Regions from separate parts of the Homo sapiens genome. Here all the other regions are linked to region 3. Evidence: promoter capture Hi-C in 16 types of primary human blood cells and fetal thymus (Javierre and others, 2016). All regions are on one chromosome and are shown on one strand. Each heading gives the region's core, a stretch centred on a gene start or on the middle of the fragment in contact. The rest is flanking DNA. Distances are from core to core; before and after follow the strand shown. Region 1 overlaps LOC105370461 (a long non-coding RNA gene). Region 2 overlaps FBXO33 (F-box protein 33). Region 3 holds the start of DORIP1 (dopamine receptor interacting protein 1).

The links. Contacts are between HindIII fragments. The CHiCAGO score rates a contact against its expected background, and 5 or more counts as called.
Region 1: a contact is called between a fragment that was not itself captured here and the fragment with the promoter of DORIP1 in region 3, in 13 of 17 cell types (total B cells, total CD4 T cells, naive CD4 T cells and 10 more). The highest score is 34.1, in total B cells.
Region 2: a fragment that was not itself captured here is called in contact with the fragment with the promoter of DORIP1 in region 3 in 10 of 17 cell types (naive CD8 T cells, non-activated CD4 T cells, activated CD4 T cells and 7 more); the score reaches 25.3 in naive CD8 T cells.

The regions. Positions count from the first base shown.
Region 1 is chr14:39,451,217-39,455,635 of GRCh38, forward strand. All of the region lies in intron 1 of LOC105370461 (a long non-coding RNA gene), which reads left to right. Among named protein-coding and RNA genes, the nearest start is that of FBXO33, 21 kb to the left of the region's middle. The HindIII fragment of the contact is 2,490 bases long and covers 557-3,046 here.
Region 2 is chr14:39,404,701-39,409,664 of GRCh38, forward strand. The region is part of intron 1 of FBXO33 (F-box protein 33); the gene reads right to left. Among named protein-coding and RNA genes, the nearest start is that of FBXO33, 25 kb to the right of the region's middle. The HindIII fragment of the contact is 6,248 bases long and covers 1-4,476 here.
Region 3 is chr14:44,895,336-44,900,009 of GRCh38, forward strand. It overlaps DORIP1 (dopamine receptor interacting protein 1), which reads left to right and starts at 1,940. Exons shown (of 5, transcript NM_001017923.2): 1 at 1,940-2,233. LOC101927418 (a long non-coding RNA gene) reads right to left here. Exons shown (of 3, transcript NR_110050.1): 2 at 3,895-3,978; 3 at 3,573-3,741. RefSeq lists enhancers at 1,585-1,634, 2,259-2,758 and silencers at 2,125-2,254, 2,275-2,594. The HindIII fragment of the contact is 3,873 bases long and covers 1,599-4,674 here.

The sequences.
Region 1 (4,419 bases), core at 552-3,051, 5.4 Mb before region 3:
CATGACCCAGCAAAAGCACCTTTAGGTATTTACCAAATTGGTTTGAAAATGTAAATCCATACACGTGCTTTAATCATAGTTGTCAGCTTTGTTCATAATCATCAAAAACTAGAAGCAACCAAGAAGTTCTTCAGTAGGTGAATGCATAAACGGTGGTACATCCATGCAATGGGTTATTATTCAATGATAAGCAATTGATGCTACAACATGGATGCGTCTTAAATGCATTTTCCCAAGTTATTGAAGCCAGACTGAAAAGGCTACATCATATTGAATGATTCCATTCATATGGCATTCTAGAAAGGGCCAAATTTAAGACTGGAAAACCAATCAGTGGTTGCTAGGGATTTGAGGAAAGGGGAGTTTTCACTTGGGGGAAAGAATGGGGGAGTTGTAGAGTTAAAAGTAAACTGTAGTGGTGGACATATACTATGCATTTGAAAAAACTGATAGAACTTTATAGCATAAAGAGCTTAATATGTGCAAGTAAAAAAATCAATCAACCAAGAGTTAGGGATCCCGGAGGGGAATGCAATGGTGACAAAAGAACCTAACAAGCTTGTTTCAGATATGTGATATAACTTCACTAAAGGGATGGGGGAAAAGGTGCTGACCTGAATAATTTTTGGAAAACAGTGTTTTAACTAGAAACTGTAAGATTAAAGACAAAAGTGTACATAAATGCTGCAGCTGGTAAAGTTGTTTCTCACAGGGGTATTGGTTAGCAATTCTGAAACTGCTGTACGTGTATACTGGAAACTGACAAATAAGTAAATGTATTACCATACATTTGGTGATTGATGGGAGCCAAGTTTCTCACTATTGGAGAAGAAGGTTGCAGAAAAGCAAGAGGATAGAATGAACCATGTGGTACTGAATTAGATTTGGAGACACCAATATGAAATTATATTTAGTTTAATATAGATACTGCTGGGCTTTGTAGCAGGTGGCTAGTTTCATAGTGTGCGGTGTTCTCATTTTTCCCTCACCTTCACCCACCCAGACCACAACCCAAACACAATTGTCTTTATTTTTCTGCCTGTCTTTTTGCCAGTAGCGAAAATGTTATTTGTTCATGCCTGAGATAGGTTGTTAACACAAAATTCTAATGAACTAGTCCAAACGCTTAACTTTTGTAGCTGGAAGACCTTCAAACATTTTAAACAAAGAAAAAAATCTTGTTTTTTTCTTTTCCTTTTGGATAGCATAGAGAACTTTTTATTTTTTGTGAAGTAGAATGTGAGTCCTTTTGGGTATATTGGAATTTCTCTGGGGACAATTTTGAAAGAAACTACTGTATACATCAAAAGAACATAAGGATTTCTGTTGTCCAACTGTCTTCAAAATTTTACCTAAAGTGTTCCATTAAAAAAGGCTACTAAGTAGAACTACTAAAATGAATAATAAAAAATATAAAAATGAATAATGAAAAAATACAAAAAAAATAAAAAATAATTCAAAAATTTACCTAGAGTACCATTTAAAAAAGGCTCCTAAGTCGAGCTACTAAAATGAATAATAAAAAATGTAAATTTCAAAGTAGCCTAATGTAGCAAGTTGAGAAGTAGAGCTTTTCCCATTCCCTGTGATTTTGGGCTGAGGGCCCAGAGCTGAGAACAAAGCATATTAGTGCCTGGATTTCTAAAGAAAGGATGCTGCTCCATCTGTGTGAAACTAGCTATGGCCACAGTCATTGCCAGGGAAGCAGTTCTAGCCAGTTCCTTGCATATGGTGGCTCTGTGTAGTGCCATGTGACTTTGCCAGCTTGTTTATAGCTAATTGGTGATTGTTGGGTCAAGTGCTCTTTCACTCTAACTGTACCCAGGCCAGTGGCCTACCGGAAGATGCAATGAAGACATTGCCTACATAGAAGTGGCCATTTGCTGGTCAATTAGATATTTCTTTTTATTTTTCTTGTTTTTGAGACAGGGTCTCACTCTGTCACCCAGGCTGGAGTGCAGTAATGCCATCATGGCTCACTGCACCTTTGACTTCCTGGGCTTAAGCGATCCTCCTGCCTCAGCCTTCTCAGTAGCTGGGAATATATGTGTGCACCACCACACCTGGCTGATTTTTTTTTTTTTGAGATGAAGTTTCACTCTTGTTGCACAGGCTGGAGTGCAATGGCACGATCTCGATTCACCACAACCTCCGCCTCCTGGGTTCAAGCGATTCTCTTGCCTCAGCCTCCCAAGTAGCTGGGATTACAGGTGCCTGCCACCACACCTGGCTAATTTTTTTGTATTTTTAGTGGAGACCAGGTTTCACCATGTTGGCCAGGCTAGTGATCCACCCACCTTGGCCTCCCAAAGTGCTGGAATTACAGATGTGAGCCACCACGCCCGGCCCTGGCTGATTTTTTATTATTGTTTTTTGTTTTTGTTTTTGTTTTGTAGAGATGGTGTCCCACTATGTTTCCCAGGCTGGTCTCAAACTCCTGGGCTCAAGTGATCCTCTTGCCATGGCCTCCCAAAGTGGTGTGAGCTACTGCACCTGGCTGAATCTCCTTTCTGAGATTCTTTCTTTTAGTTTAGTTTTTTTTTTTCGTTTGTTTGTTTTTGAGACAGAGTCTTGCTCTGTCACCCAGTCTGAAGTGCAGTGGTGTGATCTCGGCTCACTGCAGCCTCTGCCTCCCAGGTTCAAGCGATTCTCCTGCCTGAGCCTCCCGAGTAGCTGGGATTACAGGTATGCGGCACCATGCCTGGCTAATTTTTGTATTTTTAGTAGAGATGGGGTTTTGCCATGTTGGCTAAACTGGTTTCAAACTCCTGCCCTCAAGTGATCCACCTGCCTCAGCCTCCCAAAAGTGCTGGGATTACAAGCATGAGCCACCATGCCTGGCTAGTTTTGGTTTGTTTTTAAACAGAAGTTACAGCAAGATAGGCCGTTGCTTATAAGAGCAAAACCCAGTAAAGCACAGATAAATAACTGAGTCATGTCAGTGTTGAAATATTGAAATAGAGCTCCATCAACTCCTTCTAGAGCTGCCTGAATCCAAATTAAAAATATTTTTTCATGCCATCAAGTTCTATTTAAATTTCATATAAGCTTGTTTTCAGGTATAAACAGTTTTTGGTATTGGGAATAGTGCTCTTCACTTGTCAGTTTATGGGAGACATTCTTTTTGTTTCTGTCCTCCATACATATCCACTTGAAATCCTTATCTGAAAGGCTACTGTTGTTACACCAGTGATTCTATTTGAAGCTTCCACTATAGTTCTTATCCACTTGAGCTATAAGGACTGACAGCATCTTCTATTGCCATCAGGACTCCTTTAGGCTCAGGGAATGTGGTTACATTTTGTATCTGTTAAGCAAAGGAAGGCTTTAAAATCGTAAAATTGTGTTTATTTTATAGAGTAAAATAGTGTTTATTTTACAGAGTAATAATCTTAGTGTTGTTCTCCATCCTATTTAAAAAGTGTCCCTGTCAAACAAAAACTTCACTTCTAAGGAGAAAACATGTGATAGGATGATTGACCAGAAGGTTCAAACTATTGAATTTTGGTGGGTTTGTAATAAAATGTTAATTTCTGGGTTATATAGAAATCTCATACGTTAAACTAGAGGAGAGGGGGAGAGGAGAAGAGGAGAGAGAGGAGGGAGAGAGAGAAGAGAAGAGAGGAGAGGAGAGAGAGGAGGAAAGAGGAGAAGAGGAGAGTTGAGAGGAGAGAGGAGAGGAGGGAGAGAGAGAGAGACGACAGGAGAGAGAGAGAAAGGAAGGAAGGGAAGGAAAGACAGTCATCTTTTCCAGGTTTATGCTTTCCACCACAAACCCAAGAGAGTAATCCAGCTTCTATAAATAACTGCAGGCCTCACCTTGTTTCTGTAGATTTCCTAGAGGGAAACTGTACTGAAATTCTCATGATCACTATCATCTGTCCCTGTTAAGTAGACAGTGGGGATGTCCCTCTCTCCCTCCAAGGTTGGAATGTGTGAGTTAGAAACACAGAACACACTGGGAACTCCAGCTTGACCTTCTGCCTGTTCCAAATGAGGCTTTTTCTTGTTTTCCTTTCTGGTAGCTTTTCTGTCTATCTAATACCACTTGGCAACCTTTTTCCATGATAGCAGCTCTCAGCACTTTTTCTTATAACTGACTTTAACCTTAGGGGGCTTTCTTTAGCAGTTGCAACTCTTGCATGCAGGTTCTTAGTCATCTTTTATCTCTAGTGCTGAGCACAGGCTCTGGGCAGTAAGAATTTGTTGGATGAATGAAGGAGTGGGCTCGTGTAGCTAGGCAGTTTAAACTTACTCTCCCAACACCATCTTTTTCTATATATTTTAATTAATGAATGGGATCTTGCTCTGTCACCCAGGCTGAAGTGTAGTGGCGTGATCAGTACAGCCTCAAATTCCTGGACTCAAATGATTCTCCCACCTCAGCCCCCCAAATAGTGGGACTGCAGGCTCAACACC
Region 2 (4,964 bases), core at 103-2,602, 5.5 Mb before region 3:
AAAGCATTTGCAGCACTTGAAGAGATCAAAGCGAGCTGAAAAGAATCCAGAGTGACTGGAGTACAGAGAGTAAGTGAACATGAAATGATGACGTAGAGGTAGACAGGGTTCTATGTCAAAGAAAAAATTTTGTAAGCTGCTCAACAATCATTTTAAGAAAAGAATAGGCTGGGCGCGGTGGCTCACACCTGTAATCCCAGCACTTTGGGAGGCTGAGGTGGGTGGATCACGAGGTCAGGAGTTCGAGACCAGTCCGGCCAACATAGTGAAACCCCATGTCTAATAAAAATACAAAAAATTAGCCAGGTGTGGTGGTGTGCTCCTGTAATTCCAGCTACTTGGGAGGCTAAGGCAGGAGAATCGCGTGAACCTGGGAGATGGGAGGTTGCAGTGAGCCGAGATCACGCCATTGCGTGTGATTCTGTCTCAAAAAAAAAAAAAAAAAAGGAATAAAATGATTAAATTTCTGTCTAGAAAATGTTACTGTGGCATTAGAAGAGTCTGGAAGGATGCCAGAACCAAAGTGGGGAGATGAGTTAAGAAAGTATTTTAGTAATAGAGATGAGAGATACTGGCACCTTGAACTGGAGTTTTGTTGGTCAATGTAGAGAAAATGGACAGCCTCAAGCTACATATCAGAGGTAAAATGGACAGGAATAGGTGCTGGATTAGCTATAGGGGGTGAGGGGACAGTAGGCAAGAATAACTCCTAAATTTTCTGGGTTGTGTTAACATGGTACAGTTTCTTTCTTACTGGGATAGGGAATATTAGAAATGAAAATCAGGGAATTTTTTGGGGGGGTGTGGAGGCATGGTGGTGAAGTAAACAATGAGCACTATTTTGCACATGTTGAACCTGAGGTGCTTTTAAGATAGTCAAGTCTTCCTAATCTTAGAATAGCAATAAATTAGGAAGTGATACATTTTTGACTATATAAAAATGAAAAACTTGATATCCAACAGCATACCTCACTAAAAAGGGCAAACCAACATTGTGAGAAAAATGTGTAACAAATGCTACATTTTAAAAAATTCATATATAAAATCACCCCACATAAGAAAAATATGAAGAATCCAAGTAGTAAATAGGAAAAGGTTATAAAACAGCCAATGTAGAACATGTCAAGGAAAACATCACAGGAATTACTAATGGAAATAATCTAATTTTTCTTGACCTTTAAAAAGTTTTAGTCACTCTGGTAAATCTAATCAACTTGACATGTGATTCTAAACTGTATTTTAAAAAACATTTCAAGGAGACATCGAACAAAAAAACCGTATTTTTTTCTGTTACAGAAAGGATATAAAACTGTTCTTGTGAGAATGGCTTCCATATTAGACTCCAAAGAATACATTACTAACATATATAAGTATGTCTGCTTTTAAGGTTTTTATCCTTTCTTTATTCTAAAGTTGCTACCATATCCATAAATTATAAAGACGTTAATTTGTTTTCCATAAGTTTTCTTAAAAAGAAAAATAAAAAAAATTAAAGGCTTCTAAAAGAATGGATATTTGGCTTTGGAGAATATAAGGTATTATATAAAGTAGAAAAAATATGTCACACAATTTCTAATAATACTCAGAGGGGACAGTCATACAGTCTCAGTATTTTTCTCCTTTCAACTCAACTTTCATTTATTTGGTGGTATTAAAATACACATGTAAGAGACTTTTACTTCTTCTACAAAGAAACACTAAGGACAACGGCCTTCCCTCTGTAAACAACTATAAAACTAGAGAAAACAAAATAATTGTTTTCAGACATTGGACAATAAGCAATATAGGACTGTGATCCTGAAAGATGGGGAAAAAATGAGGTGTGTATTATAAATTGCCTCCGATTATGGTCTGGAGAGAGTTTTCAGGTTACAACATAGCCTGGTAGTCTCCCTGAATCGAGGAGACAAGAGATTTTGGGGAGTTTGCAGTCTAGAATTTTAGGGCAGAGTACCAGAGACAAACTGTACAGAAAGAGCTTCACAGATTTGCAAAGACTTCATATTACCCAGGTTTTTGGCTGAGTAATGATTTGTACATGTGTTGGGCAAAACTACAAGTCTGAAGAGAGAACCGCTGGAAAGCAGTAGAGTCCACACAGTGGTAAGGTAACACGGCTCACAACTAGGAGAAAAATCCATCAACAGAAATATACTCAGAAATGGCAGATGAAGGATTTAGGGAAAGAACTTAAATCAGCTATTAAAACTATACTCCATAAAACTATTCATCCATAAAAAGAATATGGATTGGAAAGAAAGAAGCAGAAGTGTCCTTATTTGCCAATTACATGATCATTTACACAAAAATTCTAAGGAATCTAAAAAAAGCTACTATAACTATGAGTTCAGTAAAGTTAGCAAGTTTAGTAAGGTCACAGGATACAAGGTCAATATATAAAAATCAATTGTATTTCTACATGCTAGCAATGAACATTTGGAAATTAAAATTTAAAAAACAACTTTTTACAGTAGTATCAAAAATACAAGATATTTAGGAATAAACTGAACAGAAGTATCAGTCCTATACACTGAAAACTACAAAACATTGTTGAAATAAATCAAACAAGATCTAAGTAAATGGAATGCCATGTCTGTTGGTTGGAAGTTTCAATACTGTTAACATGTCAATTCTCCCCAAATTGATCAACAGACTCACACAATCCTAATAGGTACTATGCTTTACAACAGATCTCTAGAAATTTTTCATCTTGCAGAACAGAAATTTTATACTCATTGATTAACAGTTTTCCATTTTTCCCTCCTTACAGCCCCAGCAATCACCATTTTATTCTCTGCTTCTGGGAGTTTGACTATTTTAGATACCTCACATAAGTGGAGTCATGTAGTATTTGTCCTTCTGTGACTGGCTTATTTCATGTAGCATAATGTCCTGTGGGTTCATCCAGTTTGTTGAATATAGTAGGATTTCTCTCTTTTTTAAAGGCTTAATATTATTCCATTGCATGTCTATATCACATTTTCTTTATGCATCTTTTGATGGACATTTGGGTTGTTTCCTTATATTGGCTAATGTGAATAATGGTGCAGTGAACATGGGTGTGCAGATATCTTTGAGATCCTGATTACACTCTTTTTGTATACATATCCAGAAATATTCCATTATTGGATCATACGGCAGTGCTATTTTTGATGAATCTCCATACTGCTTTCCATAGTGGCTGCACCATTTTACATTCCCACAAACAGTTGTATAAAAGCTCCAATTTTTCTACATCCTCACAAATGTCTATTTATTTAGAGACGGTCTCACTCTCGTTGCCAAGGCTGGAGTGCAGGGCACCATCTAGGCTCACTGCAGCCTCAACTTCCCAGGCTCAGGCGATTCTCTCACCTCAGCCTCCTGAGCAGCTGGGACTACAGGTGTGCGCCACCATGCCTGGCTAACTTTTTTTGTATTTTTTAGTAGAGACAGGGTTTCAGCATGTTGGCCAGGCTGGTCTTGAACTCCTGGACTCAACCAATCTGCCCATCTCAGCCTCCCAAAGTGTTGGAATTACAGGCGTGAGCCACCATGCCTGACCTTAAATTTATTTTTGATAATAGACATGCTAAGATGTGAGTTGATATCTCACTGTGGTTTTGATCTGCATTTCCATGATTAATGAAACTCAGCATCTTGCCATATGCCTGGAGGCCATTTGTATGTCTTCTTTGGAGAAATGTCTATTAGTCTTTTGCTTGTTTTAAAATTAGGTTAAATTTGTTATTTTGCTATTGAGTTATACGAGTTACCATATTTTGGATATTAACCTTTTACCTTGATAGATGGTTTGCTAATATTTAACTTCCATTTCTCTTTGTTTTTTGGACACAGAGTCTCACTCTGTGGTCCAGGCTGGAGTGCAATAGCACCATCTCGGCTCACTGCAACCTCTGGCTCCCAGATTCAAGCAATTCTCCTGCCTCAGCCTCCCAAGTAGCTGGGATTACAAGTGTGCACCACCATGCCTATTTTTTTTTTTTTTCAGTAGATACAGGTTTCACCATGTTGGCCAGGCTGGTCTTGAACTCCTGACCTCAAGTGATCTACCTGCCTCAGCCTCCTTACTTTTATCTCACATTTTTTTTCTTTTAGACAGGGTCCTGCTGTTTCCCAGCATGGAATGCAGTGGTGTAATCATGGCTTACTGTAGCCTTGATCTCCTGGGCTCAATGGATCCTCCCACCTGGGCCTCCCAAGCAGCTGGGACTACACATGCATGCTACCACACCCAGCTACTTTTTGTATTTTTTTGTACAGATGGGGTTTTATCATGTTGTCCAGGCTGGTCTCGAGCTCCTGGGCTCAAGGAATCTGCCTGCCTCGGCCTCTTCAGCTTGCTTTTTAATTTTGCTGATTGTTTCCTTTTCTGTACAGAGCTTTTATTACGATGTCCCACTTGCCTATTTTTGGTTCTGTTGCCTTTGTTTTTGGTGTCAAACCACAAAGTCATTACCAAGACCAATGCCAAGAAGCTTTCCCCCTATGTTTTCTGTGAGAAGTTTTACAGTTTCAGAATTTATATTTAAGTCTTAAATCTATTTTGCTTTGATTTCTGGCCATGGTCTACGATAGGATCCAATTTCCTTCTTTTGCCTGTGGATTTTCAGTTTACACAACACCATTTGTTGAAGAGACTATCCTTTCCCCATTTTATGTTCTTGGTACCAAAGATCAGTTAATCATAAATGAGTGGGTTTATTTATGGGGTCTCTCTTCTGCTCCACTGGTCTATACATCCATCTTTATGCTAGCACAATACTGTTTTGATTACTGCAGCTTTGTAATATATTTTGAAATTAGGAAGTATGATGCCTCCAGCTTTGTTCTTTTTCAAGACTGCTCTGGCTATTCAGGGTCTTATGTTGTTCCATATTAATTTTAGGGTTGTTTTTCTATTTCTGTAAAACATGCCATTGAGATTTTAATAGAGATTGCATTGAATCTGTAGACTGCTTTGG
Region 3 (4,674 bases), core at 690-3,189:
GGCAGATCACCTGAGGCCAGGAGTTTGAGACCAGCCTGGCCAACATGGTGAAACTCTGCCTCTACTAAAAATACAAAAATTAGCTAGGCATGGTGGTGCACGTCTATAATCCCAGCTACTCGGAAAGCTGAGATACCAGAAACTCTTGATCCTGGGAGGCGGAAGTTGCAATAAGCCGAGATCATTCACTGCACTCCAGCCTGGGTAACAGATCAGGATTCTGAAAAAAAAAAAAAAAAAAAAAAAAAAAAAAGGCAGAGTTGGGGGGCGGTAGGTAAGCAGAAACTTAAGTGTGATGGGCATACTCATTTGATCACAGTGATGGTTTAAGGGGTTATACATATGTCAAAACTGATAAAAATTATACACTTTAAGTATGCTCTATATATTCTATGCCAATTATACTTCAGTAAATATATCTAAAAAAACCCTACAACTCAGATGTCAGATTTTGAAGACGGTGGAAAAGATGCAGAATGGAAATTTCAGTTAAAGGCCTCAGTGATGTTTGTGAGTTATCCAAGTATTCAAGGAATCCATGCTTCCTCCATCTAGCTGAGACTCGGCAGAGTTTAATGAGCAATCTCAATACTATTCTCCAGAAATGGTGTCATCCACCATACTATGGCTGTTTTCAGGAAGAGAATGACCTAATCAGTATAAAATGAACTCCATGTCTTGTGAGAGATTTATAATTAAACACATAATCCACATTTACAAACATTTTTAAAGGGCTTTTCTACCTGTAGGAGAGGATTAATATTGAGAGTGAACTTTTTGCAAGTTTTCCAACACACTAGTTTATCTCTAAGAGCCTCAGTTTCCTCATCTATAAAATACCATAAGAAATAAGAAAAAACAGGAAACTAAAAAGAGCAGGCTTTGCCAGAGCTATTAATTATTCTTTTTTGGGCAGAGCCAAAACTCAAGAAATGGAAGTCTCTCTTCCATTTCTAGACTTTTTTAGAGAGATCCATGAGGAAGTTCCCCTCCATAGCTTTGGCCGACCATCACACCGGTCAAGAAGGCATCCAGCCTCTCCCAGGCTCAGCCTGTGACGGAAAACCACACTGATTTACTAGGATAGCCTTGAGCTCTCTCATTAGCCCTCACGTGTTCTGAACGTTAGAGCTAACTTTCCAGACCCTCATTATTTGTTGAAAGGCTGGATGGGGAAAATCTCAACCAGATCTCCATGCCTACTTGCAAGGAGAGGTAGTTTTTGCAGGGTGGCCTGTGTTCTCCAGATGCAGAGCCATACAGGGCCTTGCTTCTTTACGGGAGATACAAAAACTCGGCCCTAATAAACAGAAATAGTGGTTGAGCCCACAAACTAGCATTAAGTTGTCCTAACTGTAATTTCCAGCTCCGTCACTTGCTGTGTGGGACCTTATTATCTCCAAAACCCAATTTTTTCAACTTCACAATGGAATTAAAACAATCTAATTTTTCAAAATGGGGTTAACTTCCACTGTAAGTTACAGTATATTGGCCAATAATTAACTTGAACACTAAAGCTGGCATTTAACAGATCAATTCAACTGTTTTCTAAGTAAATACTTAAACGCTTAAAAAACCGTAATTTACTGAGAAAACAAAGCTTTCTTTCTAGGTTAAGAATTTGAGAAAACAAGACCCAGAAGCAAACTAAAATCAAGTCCTAAAATGGTACAAACCTCAAAAAGCCAATCAGGTTTGCCAATAAAGCTCCGCCTCCGTGCAAACTCTGCCCACTTCCGGCTTCCCCACCCACCTTCTACCAGTGGAACCCCGCCCCTCTCTGCGAGGTCCCGCCCCCCACACCTGATCCTGGTTCCCATTGGGCGAATCTGGATGCTGTATACACAGCCGACACACGCACATTAGGCTGGGGCGTCTTCGCGCCTGCGCAGCTGCGCTGTCAGGCGGCTGAAAACGGGGGGGTTGGGGGGAGGGGGGCGGAGGTCGTGCCGAATCTTCCTCCGTAATAAGAAGCGACGTGTCCCACTGTCCTGGCTCCGTGGGTCCAGTGAGATTGGGCCTGGGCGCTGGAGCTGCTGTGGCTCCCGCCGCGGCGGCTGCCATGGAGGCCATGCCAGAGCCCAGAACTCACGCCGGGGGAGGCCGAGACAGCCGGCGGTACTCATAGATGAGGCAGCGGCGGCGGCGGCGGCGGCGGCAGCCCGGGCTCTCCATGAGCAGGCGGCGGCGGCGACGGGTGCGGCGGCACCGGCAGTTTTCGGTCCCCAGGGAGGTACGAGGAGTTTGCTTCCTGGTGGACGGAGACTGGCCGGTGTGGGAACGCCTTCCGCGGCCCGGCCCTCCAGCCTATTTGTCCGCAGTTCTGAGCACTCGGCGGGGCACTGCCCGGGCAGAGGCGGGGGCGCCCAGCCGACTCGCGGGCCCCTAACTCGGGGACCCGCCCGCCTCGGTGCCAGGCCTCCCGGGCGCGGCTGCCCAGGGCCAGGGTGGGCGTGGCCGGAACGTGGGGGCTCCCCGGGGGCGCACGCCTAGCGTCCGCCTTGTCCCTGTCCCGAAGTCCCGCGCTGCTGGGAGCGGTAGCGCGTGGCTGTACAGGCGTATTTTAGGCGCTGATTTGAGAGGGGACTTTTAGAATCCCTGAGTCCTTAGGGAGTCTGGCGTTCAATGCCTTGGGCATGTGGTGGGGTCCTCACGGCTAGCTTGGGGTACCAATTTCCTCCCTTGGAAGTCACCACGAAAGAAAGATGTTTTGTCAAAGAAATAGAGGTCAGGAGAGTTTTCCAGGTTTATTCAAATTGGAGGGCCCGTAGAGCCTGGAGAATAAAGCCAGCGGAATACATCCTCCAGTCCTTCTAATTACAGTTCCTAGCTAAACAGCTAAGACAATTTTAAGTAAAGCTCTTCACAGCTATCTTTCCATCATTTTTCCCCACCCCTCATTTTTATTGCAATTTACTTTGGAACAAATCACCAAATTCATGATGAAACTAGTATCCTCTAGTTCTTCCAAACCTTCCCTCCTCCCGTTTTTTCCAGAGAAAGACTAAAGTTTCATGCCACATATGTCATTATAGTTTAATTCTCTTAGAGTGTAAGGGTAGTTACACTTCATTTGGTCATGTCTGAAGATAATGTGAAGAAAATATCCTAGAGATTTATGCTTCCTTCCCAATGCACTATTTTAGGAATCCGAACTCAGGCTCTTTAAGCAATCTTAAACCTTGCTACAAAGTTCTTTAAAATTCAACGGAAATAAATCAAACCATAAAGTTATTTTCGTTTTTAAAGTATTTGAATGCATAACTGTTTTTTAAAATCTTTGTAAACAAAACGAATCAGTATCTATTACGAAGAAACTGAGTTTGTGTTTTCCTAGGCTGCAGATTTGCCACACCCTCTTCTTCCTAAGTGGATGACTAGAATCAATGTGTTGGCCAACTAGATATAAACATCCACTCTTCATACTAAATATAGTTACTGGATATTTTAGAGTCCACAGTATCTTGCTTCAAACTGAAAACACTGTGTTCATGTGTGTTTAATATATTGCAGAAGTGAATTTTTACTCGCGTTGCAGAATGTTTTGGACTTAGTTTCTTACACAAATAAAACACGTAGGACTGCAGCTTTATTAAGTGTTGAGTTCATGTTGTGTTTGGGAGGATGCAGCACTTGGAAAAGATGGTCAAAATAAGACACTGATCTCAGTCACTCATTTCTCTGTTTCCACTCCTCAGATGCCTCCCTTTTTTCATAACAATACTTCTCCATAAAAGTAACCTCGGAAAACAATATGATGTTGTTAGTTTATTTGCTTGTCCCAAGTAAAGTGAAGGAGTTTTTTCAATACAATTGTAAAAAGAACTCATTCTTTCAAAAGTATGTGCGCTATATAACATACATATAACACAACATATTTATTAAAATACTTACTGTGGCTTTAAAAACAAAGTGCCTAGTGGTCCTCAAGGTTGGGGAAGAGTGCCAGTTTGAAAAGGGAGGATGCTTTGCTTCATTCTGAAAACATGCATAGGGAATAATCAGGATATTTATCAAGTTCTGAATCAGATCTTCATAGTATAGCCTCTGTAGTTAAAAATTATAGTATATCTAAATTGCACAATAGCACAATTCTCAGTTGCAAATAAAAATCCCAAAGTGATTAGCAATATTAGCTATGCTACTATTCACTTAAGATTGATTTTCATGATTACTCCTCATGCTGTCTTTCAAAGCTAAATGTCAGAATTAGTCTTAGTCTATATAGCAACAGGAGTTTTTTTTTTTACATAGTTTTTCTCTACAACAAATAAAATATGTAGTATAGTTAATATAAAGATTATGTAATGGCTATTATTCTGTACCCCCAATTAAGGATCCCATTATATTAGTTTCTTAAGTGGAATCACCCATATTAACAAGAAAATGAAGCAAGCACAGCCTGTATTTTGGAAAGATGAGGAGGTTTACATTAGGAATATGCCTAACCAAAGTTAATGTTTTTAATAGCTTTATTTTCATTTAGGAATTTTTTTTTTTTTTTTTTTTTTTTTTGAGATGGAGTTTCACTCGTTGCCCAGGCTGGAATGAGATGGCGTGATCTCGGCTCACCGCAACCTCCGCCTCCCAGGTTCAAGCGATTCTCCTGCCTCAGCCTCCCGAGTAGCTGGGATTACAGGCATGCGCCACCACGCCCAGCTAATTTTGTATTTT